3 separate regions of the Homo sapiens genome follow, and all the other regions are linked to region 2. Evidence: promoter capture Hi-C in 16 types of primary human blood cells and fetal thymus (Javierre and others, 2016). All regions are on one chromosome and are shown on one strand. Each heading gives the region's core, a stretch centred on a gene start or on the middle of the fragment in contact. The rest is flanking DNA. Distances are from core to core; before and after follow the strand shown. Region 1 overlaps WDR35 (WD repeat domain 35). Region 2 holds the start of ADI1 (acireductone dioxygenase 1). Region 3 overlaps LAPTM4A (lysosomal protein transmembrane 4 alpha).

What was found. The method cuts DNA at HindIII sites, captures the fragments that hold promoters and counts their contacts. A CHiCAGO score of 5 or more calls a contact.
Region 1: a fragment that was not itself captured here is called in contact with the fragment with the promoter of ADI1 in region 2 in 1 of 17 cell types (total B cells); the score reaches 8.2 in total B cells.
Region 3: a contact is called between a fragment that was not itself captured here and the fragment with the promoter of ADI1 in region 2, in 1 of 17 cell types (non-activated CD4 T cells). The highest score is 7.8, in non-activated CD4 T cells.

The regions. Positions count from the first base shown.
Region 1 is chr2:19,906,774-19,910,747 of GRCh38, forward strand. WDR35 (WD repeat domain 35) reads right to left here. Exons shown (of 27, transcript NM_020779.4): 27 at 3,490-3,974. Among named protein-coding and RNA genes, the nearest start is that of TTC32, 6.8 kb to the left of the region's middle. The HindIII fragment of the contact is 4,962 bases long and covers 1-3,974 here.
Region 2 is chr2:3,517,712-3,521,805 of GRCh38, forward strand. It overlaps ADI1 (acireductone dioxygenase 1), which reads right to left and starts at 1,820. Exons shown (of 4, transcript NM_018269.4): 1 at 1,657-1,820. The coding sequence starts at 1,776. It overlaps LOC124907725 (a long non-coding RNA gene), which reads left to right and starts at 1,835. Exons shown (of 2, transcript XR_007086195.1): 1 at 1,835-2,245. RefSeq lists silencers at 727-926, 1,407-1,466, 1,547-1,866, 1,937-2,066 and enhancers at 1,486-2,007, 2,008-2,528. The HindIII fragment of the contact is 6,500 bases long and covers 1-2,401 here.
Region 3 is chr2:20,044,497-20,048,506 of GRCh38, forward strand. All of the region lies in intron 1 of LAPTM4A (lysosomal protein transmembrane 4 alpha), which reads right to left. Among named protein-coding and RNA genes, the nearest start is that of LAPTM4A, 5.1 kb to the right of the region's middle. The HindIII fragment of the contact is 1,471 bases long and covers 1,136-2,606 here.

The DNA of each region.
Region 1 (3,974 bases), core at 389-2,888, about 16 Mb after region 2:
ATAGAGACAGAAAGTAGAATGTGGTTGCCAGGGACAGCTTTAAGGGGGATAGGGAGTTATTGTTCAATGAGCATACAGTTTCAGTTTTGCAAGATAAAGAATTCTGAAGATGGATGGTGGTGGTGGTGGTGGTGGTGGTGGTGGTGGTGGTGGTGGTGGTGGTGGAATATGAACAATATGAATGTACTTAATAAATATAGTTAATGCCACTTTAACTGTACACTTAAAAATGATTAAGATAGGCAAGGTGCAGGATCTCATGCCTGTAATGCCAGCACTTTGGGAAGCTGAGGTGGGAGGATTACTGTGCTAAGGAGTTTGAGGCTGCAGTGAGCTATGATTGTGCCACTGCACTCCAGCCTGGGTGACAGAGCTAGACCACGTCTTGTAAAAAATTTAAAAAAAATTTAAAAATGATTAAGATAGTAAATTTTGTGCTATGTCTATTTCATCACATAAAAAATATGGAAAAATCAAGTGGCAAGTGTGTTTTCTGTAAAAAGATCGTTGCAACAACATTGCATTGAAGTCATTATTACTGTATTTCTATTGATTTTGTTGCATCCACTGCAGTTTCTGCTTTATAAAGGTGGTTGCTACGAGCATAGATATTAGGTGTTATATCTATGTCTACAGATACTCTTACATGTTACATTGTCACTGTGAATAGCAGTTTTTAGCATTATCAAGTATTCTTGCTTGTAGTACTTAACTCACCACATCAACAAATTGAAGAAAAATCTCAACAGATGTAGAAAATGCAGTTAATAAAATTCAACTCCTTAGCAAACTAGGACAAGAAGACATACTTATTAAAACCTACCGACAAAATGTCTACAGAAAATATAATAAGCAATGATTTCTTAAAATATTGAAAAATTTCCTTTGAGATTAAGAATAAGACAAGAATGCCCAGTATCATCACTTTAATTATTCAGCATTGTATTGGGTATCCTAGCCAGTGCAATAAGATGATAAAAAGAAATGAAAGACATGACAATTGAGAAGTATTTTTTTTAAAAAAAGCAGTCATTAAACATGGTTATATAGTTGTATATGTAGAAAAGAAGTGCAAAGGACTGAGAGTGACAAAACATTTTTGAAGAAGAAAAACAAAGGAGGACTTGTACCAGATAGCAGGACCTATTTTAAAAACTATAATAACTGAGACATTCTGCTTTGGGCCAAAGAAAGACAAACAGATCAATGGAACAGAAAAAGAAATCAGAAATTGTTACCTACATATATGGACTTGATTTTTTTCCCATATAATTGCACATCAGTGTGGAAAGGGTGGACTTCAATCAGCTGGAGGTATCATTGACATTAATTTCTTTTAACTTTAGAGAAATCTCTTAGGAGCTGATATCTCTCAGCATAAAGACATAATACAGCAATTTATTCAGTCTCACCTCAGTTTCTTTTTCTTCTGTTAAATTCAACTAAAATAGAAATCTCTTATTAAAAAAATAAAACTACCAATGTTAAATGGGCAATTTGATGAGTTTTAACAAATGTGGAGTCATGTAATCATCACCAAAACCAAGATATGGAACATTTCTATCATCCCACAATGCTCCTTTGTATACCTTTGAAGTCAATCACCTACCCTTCTCCCTGATCTCAGGCACTACTTTCTATGATTTTGTCTTTTCTGGAATTTCATATAAATAACATCATACAGTATGCTGTCTTCTATATCTGGCTTCTTGCACGTAGCACAATGCTTTTAAGATTCATCTATGTTGTTACTTGTGTCAGTTCATTCCTTTTTATTGCTGAGTAGTATTTCATTGTGTGGATAGTCCACAATTTGTTTATACATTCACATATTAATGGATATTTGGTTTCTTTCCAGTTTCTGTCTACTATAAATAAAACTTACGTACATTTGCATTCAAGTCTTCCTGTAAATGTGTTTTGATTTCTTCTGGGTAAATTCCTAAGAGTGAGATTTCTGGGTTCTATGTTAAGTGTATATTTAAATTTAGAAGAAACTTCCAAACTTTTCCCAAGTGAGTGTACTGTTTTGCATTTCCATCAGCAATGTATGAGGGTTTCAGCTGTTCTATACCCTCACTATTTCTCTTGTCAATTTTAGCCATTGTAGTGTGTAGAAGCATCTCATTTTTTCTAAATCTCTCTCAATTTTACTACCTAGAAATTTAAACTGCCAAACAATAAATTAGCTAAATAATTTTGTTTTGTTTTTTTGTTTAGACAGAGTCTTGCTTTGTCACCCAGGCTGGAGTGTAGTGGCACAATCTTGGCTCACTGCAACCTCCGCCTCCCAGGTTCAAGCGATTCTCCCGCCTCAGCCTCCCAGGTAGCTGGGGCTACAGGAACCCGCCACCATGCCTGCCTAATTTTAGTATTTTTAGTAGAGACAGGGTTTCACCATATTGGCCAGGCTGGTCTCAAACTCCCGACCTTGTGATCCGCCTGCCTTGGCTTCCCAAAGCCTTTTAATGTCTACTTTCTTTTAATTTTAAAGAAATCTCTTAAGAACAAATACTGATTTTGGTACGAAGAAACCAATTATACAAATTCCTTCAGTGTCACTTCAGTTTTTTTCATCTCTTACATTCAACTAAAATATTTTATTTATAAAGATCAACTAATTTTACTTTCTCATCTATACCGTTATGTATTTTTGAAAATTTCTGCCATGAACATTTTTGCTTTTTTTTTTAATTATTATTATTTTTTGAGACGGAGTCTTGCTCTGTCGCCCAGGCTGGAGTGCAGTGGCACTATCTTGGCTCACTGCAAGCTCTGCCTCCCGGGTTCATGCCATTCTCCTGCCTCAGCCTCCCAAGTAGCTGGGACTACAGGCGTCCGCCACCACGCCCAGCTAATTTTTTGTATTTTTAGTAGAGACGGGGTTTCACCACGTTAGCCAGGATGGTCTCAATCTCCTGACGTCGTGATCCGCCCGCCTCAGCCTCCCAAAGTGCTGGGATTATAGGCGTGAGCCACTGCGCCTGGCCTGCTTTTTATATTCAAAAAAAAAAAAACCAGTAAATATTAGTTTCTTAGAGAAAAAAATGAATTGAGAAAATGGTCTTTAAAATAGACAGTAGAGGCAATACAATATTCCTATTTTCATTTTGAAACTGAGTAGAAAATCTTGGAGCTACATTATCAAATGTAGTATTCTTTATTTTCTCTTATAGGTCTAGTAGGACATAATTTCCTTCGTTCCTAAATGAGAACTCAGCATGACCATTAAGGAGTAGCTCACAGCAACCTCCAATATCTGACATTTGCCTAGTGCCTCTGGAAGGTTGTTGGGGTTTTTCCCCCCTTGTTTGGTAGCAAAAGTGGTATTGTATATCTATTGTACCTCCTGCTCCCTTTTCCCCTTCTCCACTCTGGAGCCCAATACCCTCCTAACCAACCCCCATCAGAATACTTAAATGAAGACACAGCAAACACCGTGTTCTCCGTAAGTTATAGATAAAGAAAACGTGGAATAAACACAAGTTATTTTTTTCTTCAATGTTTATTATTTTCGTATTTTTTCACTTAATACTACATAAAATCTAAGATCTCAGCTCTTGGAATACAGAAAAATAGTTTCAAAGTGTATTTTAGCAAAACAATTTATAATGAAATTAGCATTTGTGAATTAAGCATGTCAACATTACTGTGTTGCTTGTTAGGCACACTGCTTATTTGTACAGCTTTATCAGTCAGTTCCATCATTTCAATATTTTGGCCCACCACACCACTTTGAAACATGTAATGAAGGGCAAGTTTTATAATAAAAAAAACAACTTGGCATTACTCAACGGGAAGTCAGTACATGTTTTTTGCAAGGAGAACAACATAACTGTTTAATGATGCTGTCTTCAATATACTACCTAATTCTGTTTATGCAACTTCTCACCAGGTAATTGTTTTTTATGGTCAGTTTTGCTTTTCTTTGTCCCCCTAGTCAAGGGAGAGTTTGTTAGTGTTGTTATCTGGAA
Region 2 (4,094 bases), core at 570-3,069:
GCCGAGATCATGCCACTGCACTCCAGCCTGGGCAAAAAGAGCAAAAAAAAAAAAGAAAGGAAGAATATAAAAACACACAGGACATTAAAACCACAGAGTAAACATGATTTAATTTTGATAGCCCTGACTCAGAGCAGAACTAGACGGTAGGAAAAACTATGTTTGAGCCCATGTAATAATCTAAAAGATGTCTATTAAAATAAATCTTATTTTATTCTTTGAATACATTAAGAAGCTGACCTGTAATCTCACTCTTGTTCTTGTTCTTAAAACCGTCAAATGCACAATGAAACTCCCCAAGTGTATTAATTTGAACCCTCTGGTTGTTTGGATTGTGGATAAACATAATAAGTCAAAATTTATTCTCCTCTCATTAATGGAAAACTATAAACCACTTGATTGCTTTGAAGAAGTACCCTCCAGCAAGGTAAGTGTTAAACCTTATCCTAGGAAAAGACAAATACTATGTAAACATTAACATGCATGCCCTGTTTCGCACTGGTATGCCAATTGTCACTTCCCTCTTCTGTTATTTAGGATAGAACAAGATGATATCCAAATAGATTATGCTGGAATATTCTATAATCCTTTCCCAAGGGAAAAAGTGTGGTGTCCAGGTAACCCTGTGTATTTCATTTAAATCACATGAATGAAGATTAGATCCAGTCACCCCTCAGCCTATCCCTGAGGCCTACCCTGGCCCTCTCTTTTGCAGTAAACCTTTGTTACTGCAAAACCATTTGCAAATAAACAAGGTGAGCGGATCTGGACTGGTGCTGTGCAAGCAACGGGACACCGGTGCAAAGCCTAGCCCCGCCTTGCAAAGCTAGCGTTACAGAGGCAGGGCTGACACCGGGCCCAGCCGGGACCCAAGCCAGCTCCACCGCCCACTGGAGACGCCCCCACCCCACCACCGAGCGCTACCCCCCGGGGATCCCCGACAGACCGCGGCAGGACCCCGCCTCGATCTGCTGGCGCCCGGTCCCTCCCCCAGGACACTTTCAAGCGGAGTCCCCCTTCCTCCGATAGAAGAAACCCCTGGGCCTTTGACCGAGGTTAGCCAGGCAGGCAGGGCGTCGGACAAGCCCAACGAGCCCACGAACTCGCAGCCCGCCTCCGGCGAATCTTGCAGCCCTGCCGGCCGACCCTTCAGGTCGCTGCCAATCCCGGAGCTGCGCGTGCGCAGCGAGTCCCGGCTGCGAGGCCCCTGACTCGCCAACTCTGCTGCTGAGCATGCGCAGCACACCCCAGGCAACAGAAACGGACCGCCGACCCCCACCAGCCCCGCTGCTGAGCATGCGCAGCCCACCCCAGGCGCCGGAAGCCGACCGCCAACCCCGTAAACTTCGCTGCTGAGCATGCGCAGCACACCACAGGCGCTGGGGGCTGACCGCCGACCCCTCAACGCCGCTGCTGAGCATGCGCAGCACACCCAGGCGCCGCGCAGGAGGCCCTGACCACCCAGCCCCACTGCTGAGCATGCGCAGCCCACCCCAGGCACCGGGAGCCGCCACGAACCCCCAAATCCCGCTGCTGAGCATGCGCAGCATGCCGCGGCTCCCAGGCCGCTGCCCGGCACCTGGAGGAGGCTGGGCTGTGCGCGGCGTTTGGGGGTCGGCGTCGCCCGCACGCTCTGCGAGGCTTGGGCTCGCGTACCTTCCAGTAGAGCACCCCGAGCCGCCGCAGCTGCTCCAGGCCCACTGGGCGGCCGGGGTCGGGGCGGTGGGGTTGCCGCGGGTCGCCCGGGGCGTCGTCCATATACCAGGCCTGCACCATGACGCGCAGTGCGGGTGCCGTGTTCGAACCCAGGGGCCGCGCTCGGAGCCCGTCGGCCGCGCTTTATCTTATAGGGAGGCGTGGACGCGCATGGGAGCCGGGATTGGGCGGCTGGTTGGAGGCAGGGCCGGCGCGGGGGAGGCCCCACGGCTCCGCTGTTTTCGGAAGCAAAGGCATTCAAGCCCCGACCCTGTCCTGGGCACCCTCGGACCTGCCTGAGGCCCGCGGCCCGGGGCCAGCCGTTCGCCAGACGCGCCGGGCAGGTGAAGCTCACCGTAGGCATCGCACGTGCCTTGTGTGTGCTGCCGCGGTCTCCCTGCACCTTCAGAGCAATCTTGTGAGGCAAACGACGTTAAACGTGTTTAGAGTATGGAAAGCAAATGCAAAAAAAAAAAAAAAAGAATAAGGATTTTGTTAAGCTCATGCAGTCCATATGGGCACAGTTGAGACTTCACAGCTCGGATCCCAGGTGAGACATTGTCCTCCACCTCCCCGCTCGCCAGACTTTTGCAGTGTCGGCATTCTGCAGTGCTACCCTGTACTTTTTAAACTTCCTCTTGTTTCCTCTTTTCATCGTTTCTCCCTTCCCCATACACTGTAATGTGCTAGTCTTAGAATAAAAACAAGCTTCCCCTATCCCATTCTGAATTTTTCAATGTAGCTAATAAAGTCCAGCCGCTTGACCATCCTAGATGTCTTTTCAAACCAACGAGTTGAAAAAGATCAGATTATCTCAGCCATTCCCTCAGTCTCTTTAACAAATAACGATAAAGCAGACAGGATTTAAATGAGACTGCTGTAAGAGCACAACCCCAATGCATGCAATTGACTCTTGAACTTCCAGAAATATTGCAAGAAAAATACACACTTATTTCATTTCTGTTCCCTTGCTCTAATGGCTTTGCAAATACATCCTCCTTAGAGAGCCTACCTCTCCACCTCTTCACTTGACCAGTTACTACTCATCCTTCAAGAACACACCTTAGACGCCATTGCCCATTTTTCTGCAGCACTCATGACAAACCTTCATGCAAGAATCTAATGGCAATCTCGCACCTCGCATTTTCTCCTTAAGCCACTGCAATAAGGCTTCGCTTCTCACCACTGGGGAACTGCTAATGACTGCCATATTGCCAGATCCAATCATGGCACTTCTGTTCTTACCAGCAACATTCGTCACAGTTGCCCACGCCCTTCTTGAAACATTTTCTCATTTTCCTTCATGAGGGCATCTTGGCTGCTCCTTCCCAGGCCCCTCCTAGCTCCTGCTCCTCTAACCACTGGTTAGTGGAGCGTTCCAGACTCTCCTCGTCCTGTTCCTATCCACTCACTCCAGGCGACTTTCCATGCTGTGCTGCCGGCTCCTGCAGCCACATCTCCAACCTGGACCTCATTCCAGAACCTCAGGCTTGAGTATCCAGTTGGTGTTGTCACATACATGGCTAATCAGTGTGTCAAACCTAACATGGCCAAAACAACTGATTCCCCACACACACCCCCAAACATGCTTCTCCCTAACCTTTCCCGTCTCAGTGAACGGCAGCACTGACTGCCCAGTGGCTTAATAAAAAAATCTAGGTGTACTCTCAGTTTTGCTTTTCCTCACCCTCAAGATCCAATCCAATCTATCAGCAAGTCATGTTGCTTTGACCTTCGAAACACACCGCAAATCCATTCACTTCTCTCCAGCCCAACTCTTTCTGCAGTCTTTTCTTGCCTGATGGAATTGACTACTGAAATTCCCCCTCCTCACACCGCTTCCATTTTTGCCCCAGTGCAATCCATTCTATGCACAGCACCCAGAGTGACCTTTTAAAAATAGGAGCCAGATGCCAGGCACTGTGGCTCACGCCTGTAATTCCAGCACTTCGGGAGCCCAAAGAGGGTAGATCACTTGACCAGCCGAGGCAACATGGTGAAACCCCGTCTCTACTAAAAGTACAAAAATTAGCTGGCCGTGGTGGTTTGCACCGCTAGTCCCAGCTACTCTGCAGGCTGAGACAGGAGGATTGCTTGAGCCTGGGAGTCTGAAGTTGCAGTGAGTTGAGATTGTACCACTGCACTGTAGCCTGGGTGACAGAGCAAGACTCTGTCTCAAAAAACAAACAAACAAAAAAACATGGAATCCAGTCAAGCCCCTTTTCTGCTTCAACCCTCCTTTCTATAGCCTCGGCCTGACCACCTCACAGCCCATCGCCCTCCTTTCTTGTTCTCTGTCCTCCAGATACTTTGGCCTTTCAGTGTATTTGAGTCATATGCTCCTCCTTCCTTTGGGCCCTTCACCCATGCAGTTTTTCCACTGAAAATGCTCTTCCTTC
Region 3 (4,010 bases), core at 621-3,120, about 17 Mb after region 2:
CTCACACCTATAGTCCCAGCTACTTGGGAGGCTGAGGTGGGAAGGATCGCCTGAGCTCTGGAGACCAGCCTAGGCAACAATACTAAGTCTGTCTCTTAAAAAACAAAAGAACTCTTCACTTTTCTTCTCTTCCATGGATAAGTCACACGCTCATCCACTATTATCTTCTTTTAGTACTAGAGACACTTCAAGTTTAATTTCACTGTGGGTCATACCACTAAATATTAAACAAAATAAATCGTAGGGCCAATCAGAAGGACCAAGAAACAGTGAAATAAATTTCAATGCTACTTCATTAAAAGCTTTTTCCAAATCTTCTTTGAGTTAATTATATTCCATTAGATCACATCATTTCATTAGAACCCCAACTTACATCTTAAAGTATTACACTGGAAAACCCATCCTTGTGACTTAAAAAAATTTTTTTTGTAGAGATGGAGTCTCACTATGTTGTCCAGTCTGGTCTTGAACTCCTGGCCTCAAGTGATCCTACTGCATTGGCCTCCTAAAGTGCTAGGATGACAGGCACGAGCCACCGCTCCTGGCATCCTTTGATCTTAAAGATATTCACCAACGAACGCCTACCTTGTGCTCACATGTAAGCCCTGGCAACTTATCTCTGATTAAAGTTGATATTTCTAAATTACATGTTTAGCTTTTCAAAAAATACATAAAATTAACTGTAATCTTACAATACAAAATTTCTCTGAAAATATCCAACTATGTACTAACTATTACAAATATTTATTCCTGATTCACTTTTTCCTTTCACTGTATTCAGGAAAGAAAGTTAATAAAAATGTAATTTAAAAAGAATGATTAAGCTGGGGACAGTGGTGTGTGCCTGTAGTCCCAGCTGGTCAGGTGCCTGAGGTGGGAGGATTGTTTGAGCCCAGTTCAAGGCTGCAGTGTGCTATAATCATGCCATTGCACACCAGCACAGGCAACATAGCAAGACCCCATCTCTTTAAAAAAAAAAAAAAAAGATTAAATTATTAACTTCTAAACTTGGCAATATGGAGAGGTATAGAATGCAGCAATATTTTAGCAGCATGGGCTGCGGATTCACCACTCAATGTGTTAACAGTACTGTAAATTTAATCAGTCAAATCAGGTGGTGTGCATTGTTTTTGAAAGCTTCTACATCTTATGTAAGTGTGTACAATAAGAAATCTGTTAGATTTGACTTGTTACAAAATAACTGTATCAGATCCATGGAAGCACAGGGCCTGAAGAGAGGAATTCTTTGTTTTCTTCTTTCACTGCCACACCTATTCCAGAAGATTCTCTGGAGACTTTAAAAAAAAAATCATTTTTCAGTTTTCCCACAGTAATTTGCCCAGAGCCAGTATCTACTGAGATAATAATTAAAACAGTGTGTCTGGTTTAAGGAGGCATCCAGATAAGGGCTTCCCATGCAGAGAAAGCACCCACAGGAGGGTCAATCTACAGAACTAAGCAAAGCCTGTTATCTGATAAAGATCAAAATTGACTATCTTTAAAACGTTTTTTAGCCATAAAAAAGGATTAGTTCATGTCCTTTGCAGGGACATGGATGAAGCTGGAAACCATCATTCTCAGCAAACTATTACAAGGACAGAAAACCAAACACCGCATGTTCTCACTCATAGGTGGGAACTGAACAATGAGAACACTTGGACACAGGGTGGGGAACATCACACACCTACACCAGGGCCTGTCAGCGGGTGGCGGGCTGGGGGAGGGATAGCATTAGGAGAAATAACTAATGTAAATGATGAGTTGATGGGTGCAGCAAACCAACATGGCACATGTATACCTATGCAACAAACCTGCACGCTGTGGACATGTACCCTAGAACTTACAGTATAATTTAAAAAAAAAAAGTTTTTTGTTGTTGTTTACTGTTACATGCAGATACAACTGAGTATTCACAATATTTTTTGGAGGAGACATTCATTCAACAAATGTGTAATGAACACCTCAAATGTTTTAATTAATAAGTTAGCCATCACACACATTTTATTTTGAGACAGGGTCTCATTCTGTCACCCAGGATGGAGAGTAGTTACTGCGATCTAGGCTCACTGCAACCTCTGCCTCCCCGGCTCAAGTGATCCTCCCACTTCAGCCTCCCCTGTAGCTGGGACTACAGGCATGCACCACCACACCATGCCCCGCTAATATATATATGTATGTATGTGTGTGTGTATATATATTTTTATATGTTTTATATATATTTATATATTATATATCTATATATAAATATATATTATATAAATATATATATAATATAATATATAAATATATATATAATATAATATATATTTTTTTTTGGTAGAGAGGGGGTTTCGTCATGTTGCTCAGGCTGGTCTCGAACTCCTGGGCAATCCACCTGCCTTGGCCTCCCAAAATGCTGGGATTACAGGCGTGAGCCACTGCCCTTATAAAGACATCACCCTCTTCCCTCCAGGAGAACATCTTGCTGTAGAGAGAAAAATAAGAGAAAAGGACAATCCTACCAATGTGTACTGAGTACTATTTAATAAGTACATACAAGAAGGATCCAGAAACTTTTGCAGGTGCACCGTGAGAAAAACAGATCCCCCTGGCTAGGAAGTAAAGAAAGCTTGGCTGGGCATGGTAGCTCACGCCTGTAATCCCAGCACTTTGGGAGGCCAAGGCAGGCAGATCATGAGGTCAGGAGATCGAGACAATCCCGGCCAACACGGTGAAACCCCGTCTCTACTAAAATACAAAAAATTAGCCCGACATGGTGGCGGGTGCCTGTAGTCCCAGCTATTTGGGAGGCTGGGGCAGAGGAATCGCTTGAACCTGGGAGGCGGAGGTTGCAGTGAGCCGAGATCGCACCACTGCACTCCAGCCTGGTGACAGAGCAAGACTCTGTCTCAAAAAAGAAAAAAAAAAAAAAAGGCCGGGCGCGGTGGCTCACGCCTGTAATCCCAGCACTTTGGGAGGCCGAGGCGGGTGGATCATGAGGTCAGGAGATCGAGACCATCCTGGCTAACAAGGTGAAACCCCGTCTCTACTAAAAATACAAAAAATTAGCCGGGCGCGGTGGCGGGCGCCTGTAGTCCCAGCTACTCGGGAGGCTGAGGCAGGAGAATGGCGTGAACCCGGGAAGCGGAGCTTGCAGTGAGCCGAGATTGCGCCACTGCGGTCCGCAGTCCGGCCTGGGCGACAGAGCGAGACTCCGTCTCAAAAAAAAAAAAAAAGGAAAGTTTTACCACGAAAACATGTGAGCTAACCATTAAATTATCTGGACTTGGCAAAATGTTGTTAATGGTTGAAGCTGGGTGATGAATAAATGGGAGGTTTTCGTACTACTTCACTACTTTTGTATGTATGAAAATTTCCTTAATAAAATTTTTAGAAAGTGACTTGGGAGGACAGCAACATTTCAGGGAGAAGGAATAGCATATGCAAAGGCAGAGGCACAAAACTTCCTTAGTTTAAGGAAGGAAACTAACAAATATAAACAAGCTATGCTTACTTGAAGTCAGAGGTGAGGGCTAGAAAGGAATAGAGCTTAAGGAAACCTGTTTTTACTTCTCTCCCAGATACAGAACTTCAAACTGTTTATGGTTGAGACACTCATGAAAAATTAGCCATATATTAAGTCTAAGAGATAAAATTATTACAAATGCTCAAAATGTAGTCTTGTAGTGCACACCATTAATCACAAAGTATATCTACTACAGCACACTTTTAAGTCCATTTTCAATTATTCAATAAACATTTGAGTTTATACCTCATAAGAAACTTGTTTAAAATCAACTGGCTTCAAATTCTTCAATAAATGATAGAGAAAACCATTTCAGGAATGCCAGAATTTAAACATGAGCTCATTCTGAAATTTCCTGTTACTTAACCAGGTATGCTTCTTTTCTAGCTAAAATACGAAAGGCTCACACTTCAGGGCTGGTACCTCCGGTGCATATAATAACTGGTTCTGGCTTTCTCTATGTCCCACAGCACTATTTTGTACCATACAATGAATATTTTAGTAT